Regions from separate parts of the Homo sapiens genome. Here region 2 is linked to region 1. Evidence: promoter capture Hi-C in human tissues and cell types (Jung and others, 2019). All regions are on one chromosome and are shown on one strand. Each heading gives the region's core, a stretch centred on a gene start or on the middle of the fragment in contact. The rest is flanking DNA. Distances are from core to core; before and after follow the strand shown. Region 1 holds the start of ATP12A (ATPase H+/K+ transporting non-gastric alpha2 subunit). Region 2 overlaps WASF3 (WASP family member 3).

What was found. Contacts are between HindIII fragments. The study calls those that stand out against the background at their distance.
Region 2: a fragment that was not itself captured here is called in contact with the fragment with the promoter of ATP12A in region 1 in 1 of the 25 tissues and cell types used here (dorsolateral prefrontal cortex).

What each region holds. Positions count from the first base shown.
Region 1 is chr13:24,679,096-24,681,814 of GRCh38, forward strand. ATP12A (ATPase H+/K+ transporting non-gastric alpha2 subunit) reads left to right here and starts at 1,313. Exons shown (of 23, transcript NM_001676.7): 1 at 1,313-1,657; 2 at 2,467-2,625. The coding sequence starts at 1,649. RefSeq lists a silencer at 1,361-1,670. The HindIII fragment of the contact is 3,620 bases long and covers 474-2,719 here.
Region 2 is chr13:26,599,155-26,602,173 of GRCh38, forward strand. All of the region lies in intron 1 of WASF3 (WASP family member 3), which reads left to right. Among named protein-coding and RNA genes, the nearest start is that of WASF3, 43 kb to the left of the region's middle. The HindIII fragment of the contact is 5,587 bases long and covers 1-3,019 here.

The DNA.
Region 1 (2,719 bases), core at 63-2,562:
ACCTTTTCTAAATGTACCCAATGCTCTTCATGTTTTCTGCCAGATGTTCTAGTCACTGCATGATGGGATTGTTACTTTTGCTGCTTCTCTGGACTCCTCACTCTTAGTCATTTTAAATATGGTCAAAATGACAATCTTTCTTACCATATTTGATATATAACTTTCAAAAAGAATAAAACTTAGCACCCTCCTATTAGTCCTTATCTAAATGGAAACTTATTAGCAGAGCATCAAGGGCCCAATAAAGTGCCCCCTCTTTTGAAACTTATCTCTACTCCCTTTCATATATTTCAATCATGTCAATTTCTTATTGTTCTTCTAAATAGGTGCTGATTACTAAACTCTATTCGTGGGTTTTATTTTTTATGTTCCTCTCCATTAATTAATATTCTTCACTGACTTTAAGACTTCACGATTCATTCTTTTAAAAGAACGTGTTTGATTTCCTCCACTGTTAACTGCTAAATATCTCTCTGATATATTGTTTTCAGGCTATCTTTCTCATCTGGAGTAATTATGTTTCAAGTGTCAGGGGGAAAATACCTTTTCTATCCTGTGCAAAAACTCATGCTGGGCACTAAGAGCATGGAGCATGTCCCAGTTATCTATTGCTGCATAACAAACCAACCCAAACTTAGCAGTATAAAACAACCACTGCTTTAGTATGCACATCAACTTTCAGGGTCAGAAATTCTTTTCTCCTTCATGTATAGAGTCTCAGCTGGGAGTGACATAAATAGGTGGAGACAGACCTCTCCAGCCCAGTCCAGCCAACAGCCTCCGCTCCTGCGCACCCGCAGCCTGGGGCCCCAGGTTCCTGTGGTCTCACCGACCCTAATCCTCTCATCTCTCCTCCCCATTCCCTCTCCAAATTGTTTCAGAATTCCAAATTCTTATCTGGATCCGGCAAATTAATTCAGCTACTCTTCAGAGTCTCTCAGTTATTCCCAAATTCTCTCGGAAGCTTGAATTTACCTATCTAAATCCATTCTCAAAAACACATTGGCCTTTTCTAGCCGGGACATCTCCAACAGTAGTTGCTGTTAGAAACTGCAATTTCCCCTTCTCTGCATACACATTTTTATAAATTGATTTATTGGTAGGCAAATTACATTTTTAAAAAAAGGCATGTGTGGGTTTTCAGGGAAGCCTGGACAGGACGTGGGCGTGCCGGGAGCTCGCCGGAGCAGCTGGTCCGGCTCTGGGCGCCCAGCGGAACCAGGGCTGTACTCACCTGGATGCCGGACCCGCCCCCTAGAGACCCCGCCCCCTGGCGTTCGGCTACTAAAGGGAAGGGGATTCCCAGGGGGTCCTCAATCCTGGACTCTCCCGACCCCTAGCTGTCGGTCCCCCTCCCTGCGCGCGCGCCGGCGGGTTTCCTACCCTCCGAGGCGTCCGCTGGCCTGCGCCCTGGCGGGGACGTGGGCGGGGCGGGCGGCATTTAAGGCTGGTGCCACCTCCCCGGTGCAGCGGCTGGCGATCGGCCGCGGAGGTGCGTGCAGGGCCCGCGCCGCCGCCGGTATCTCCACCGCCAACACCTCAGCCACTGCCACTGCCACAGCCACACGAGGCCCCCCACCGTGCGCTCCGCCGCTGCGGTCCCGGATCCGCGCTCCACGCCCGCAGCCCGCGGCGCCACCAGCCCAGCATGCACCAGGTGCGTGCAGCCCCCGCGCCGGCCGAGGATGCGAGACGCTGGGCCAAGGCCCCGGGGACCGGAGCAGGCTGACGGGAAGCGAGGAAAAGGCGAAGAGGAGAAACGCCCCGTCCCGGGGCAAGGGGAGGCCGCCTTTCCTCTGAGCGCCCCCCGGCCTGGGCACCGCTTCTCTGACTCCCCGCCACGGCTCCGTGCGGCCGCCGGGGCTGGCTGGGGAAAGAAGCCAGTCCAGAGGAGCGAGAAGGGGCCAAGGGGTCCTAGGCCAGCTCCATGGCACCTGCGGGCTCCGACTCGGAGGATGGGGTGACATGGATTCGTTGCGGTCTGAAAAGACTTCCGGTTAGGGCCCCCTGATCAGGACTGAGGGTCGTAAGCTTAGTGGGTGCCTCCTCCCCAAGAAACAGGACGCACAGCTGTTGTGTCCCCTGGGAAGGACACCTCAGAGGAAACCTCGAGGTGCCTAAGGAACCTCGAGGTTCTAAGGAAACCTCACAGCTCCTTGGAGGCATCAGTCAGGAGTTGGGGGGGTAACTTCCCACCTGCTCCACCCAGAGAAGGGTCACCCTGAGGAGCTGCTGGCTGGCCTGTGCCCACCCCGCCTCCCCTCTACACGGACGGAGAGGAAGCCAAGGTCGGCGGGAGGTGGGGGAGAGACTCCACTGTCCGACTCCCTCCGGCCTCCCCAGAGGAGGGAAGGAAAGGGAGAAGGGGCTCCTGACTCCTGCAGGTCCTGACCCCGCAGAGGGGCGCTCAGCACCTCTTCGGAAACCCCATTTGGGGCCAATATTGCACCTGGGCTTCTCTTTCAGAAAACCCCAGAAATTTACTCCGTGGAGCTCAGCGGAACTAAGGACATCGTGAAAACAGACAAGGGGGATGGCAAGGAGAAGTATAGGGGTCTGAAGAACAACTGCCTGGAACTCAAAAAGAAAAATCACAAAGAGGAGTTTCAGAAAGAACTCCATCTGGTCAGTAGCCTTAAGCCACGGGGTCCTGCCGGCTATGGCCCTTCCCCGCAAGAGCTTGCCCCTAGAACCCACCTCTTACCACAGACATTCAGTC
Region 2 (3,019 bases), core at 462-2,961, 1.9 Mb after region 1:
CCTGGCCTGCCCTGCTCTTCTTTTCATTTCTTTTTTTTTTTTTTTTTGAGACGGAGTCTTGCTCTGTCACCCAGGCTGGAGTGCAGTGGCTGATCTCGACTCACAGCAACCTCTGCCTCCTGAGTTCAAGCAGTTCTCCTGCCTCAGCCTCTGGTGAAGCTGGGATTACAGGTGCCTGCCACCAAGCCCGGCTAATTTTCTGTATTTTTTGTAGAGATGGTAAAAGCTGATTTCTGTCCACTTACTTGCCTTCCTCCTGGTGTCAGGCTGCTGCTCTGCATCTAGGGACTTCACAGGTGCCTGACGTGACATAGGGGCTCTCTCAGCTCTCCTGCCCTAGCACCTTGTGCACTACCCATGTGTATTTGATTAAGGCCCACAGGAAAGAGTTGGCAAGTGGATGCAGATTTGCTGTGTTTTGGGGCTCCTGGAGATTCTAATCTATCATTTCAGCTCACATGGAGACATTAAAAGTTTGTTAACAGTTCAGCTGGTATCTTCTTACCCTTATCTATTGGCAGATTCTTTGTCTTTCCACCACTTTGCCACAGATGAAAACAGCTGTGGATTACTACTTTGCCTATGAAGGCCTTCTTGATATCTGATACTTACTTCCTGTAGGTTTCTTTGTGTTCTATCCACATTTTCTAAATCCTGGGGCAAATTGTCTCTGTGTAATGTTATAGAATGGAGGTTACAGTCATCCCATGGGATTTGATTCATTGAGGCAAAGTGGATAAAATATTTCCAAAAGGCATCATTTCTAAGTGGACTGGGGAGTTCACACCTTGGCTTTGCCACTTAGAGCTTTGTAGTAGTATTCAGTTACTCTCTGAAAGTACTGCTTTGTTAATTGGAGGTTAAAACACCCACATCTGTCATCCTCTTTGGGCTCCGAAGATTAAATGATGCAGAAGTACAAAGTAAACTTCCCAGGGCTTGAGTGGTTTGACTAGGATTACTGTAGGAAAGATTTTGAGATTTACCTTTAATGGTAGAGTGGGCAGTAAGGTGAGTGGGATGGATACAGGATGGCTTTACATTTCCTGAGCTGTCTTTACAGCAAGATTATATTTCATTTCAAATAAAAGAAGAGAAGGCTAGTGGTTAAAAGCATGGTCTCTGAAAAAAGGTTTTCTAGGTTTGACTCTCAACTCTATTATGTACTGTGTGACCTGGGGCAAGCCACTTCACTTCTCTGTTTCTTAGTTCCTTTGTTTGTAAAATGGGGATATTAATAGTTCCTACTTCATAGGATTGCTATGAGGACCAAGTGAGAGGCTAAGAATGTAAAGCAGAGTTCTGGCTCAGCATGGCAGGCTCAGTAGCAGTGAAGTACATTGCTTCTCATTTTTTCCTTTCTGGTTGCTCTCATGTCAGGGCAGGGCAGAGACAATCCTGGTTAGCTTTTCATCCCAGCAGAGAATTCAGATACAAATCCTGATTAAGAAGGTGTATTTAGTAAGATGTTTCACAATGCTCATGGGAGCTGGGGTGTCTCCGTTCTGCTGTTGGTTGGTTAGTACTGGAGGCCAGATGTTTTAGCTCCTCTTTCATGACTTTAATCTTGTGTTGGATTCATCACCAAAAGACGAACAGGAGCATCCGCTCTGCATTACTTATTACCTCCAAGAAGAAACACTGTCGCAGCACTGTAGAATGTTAATGTCTCTTCCCTACACACCCTCTCTCCACCTCTCCACTTCTGTCTTTCCTCCTTTCCTTAGTTGTGGGAATGTGGTATATAGTCAGGGTGATTTCTTTGTGGCAGGGTAGAGATGATTAGCAATTTGGTTCTCTTAGGTTGAAAATGCTTACATTTATAGGTTATATAGTAGATAGAGCCATGCTGTGTTGAAATCTCATGGTTTTGTGGGTTTATATAGTGTATTTTCAGCACTTTTAGGTGCAATAACATTCACTTGCTTTCAGATGTATTTTAAAAATTGCTGATTACTTTTGTATTAAGATTTGAGGTCATTAATTTTAAGCAGATTGATAAAAATGGTACTTAATCTCTGTGTATTTGGTATGTGAATTACGTAGCATTTATTTTAGGAAATTTCCATGGAATTCCATTTATCTCAGCAGTTTTGAGGGGAGAAGATAATACTGTAGATGTAACTTACTGGAGTGCTTTAATTTTAATTCTGTTGACTGTCTCTGTGTATAGGTTTATTACCACTTTAATTTCTTCAGTTTACTTTGTATGTGGAGTTCTATAGTCATTTAATCATTATTCCTGTGCTCAAGGTTCTACAGAGATGAGGCCTGCCTTTGGGCTCTTCTAGACTTTGAAAGAAGCATCTTGTCACTGGAGTATGGATGATGGGGGATGATGGAGAGGATAGGGGCAGAATCTGGATCTTGGTACCCTCCTGCCTTCAGGGTTGACAGATTCAGCTGGCATTTTATGCAGAATTCAAGTTATTAACAGAAAACTCTACAAGAGCAAATGAAGCTTTAGTTAAATAAACATGAGGATTTCAAATATCAGAATATCAACTGTTTGGAATATCTACATTCCTGTACCCTTTCAGTGAGTAAATTGGCCATAATTATCTTTATTTGTAGAAAACAAAGAGGTGCTGGTTCAGGGATATGTGATATATTGGCCACTGGCCTCAAGCATGAGTTTTGTCATTTGGAGACAGATCAGTGCTGCCACCTAACCTCAAAGAATGAGGATGTGGCCTGTCATCTGCATACACAAATGCAAAGATATCATCACTTCCTTTTTGCCAAGAGTGGGCTGAGTAAATTTGCCAGATTGTGGTGATTGTGCTTGTCTGCCGACAGGGAGCATGTTTTGCTTTTAGTTGTCCAGGGATAATAACTGCCGGTTATTAAATGCCTCTGCTACCTTGCTGTGTTCTTTGTCCATAAGACTTCATCCTCCCCTTCACATTTTAAGGGGAGGTATGGTTAGCTTTATTTTTATAAAAGGGGAGCTTGAGACTCAAACAGTACTAACTCTTCCAAGGTCCAGAGCTTTTCGATGGTAGTTCCGGGGTGGAAC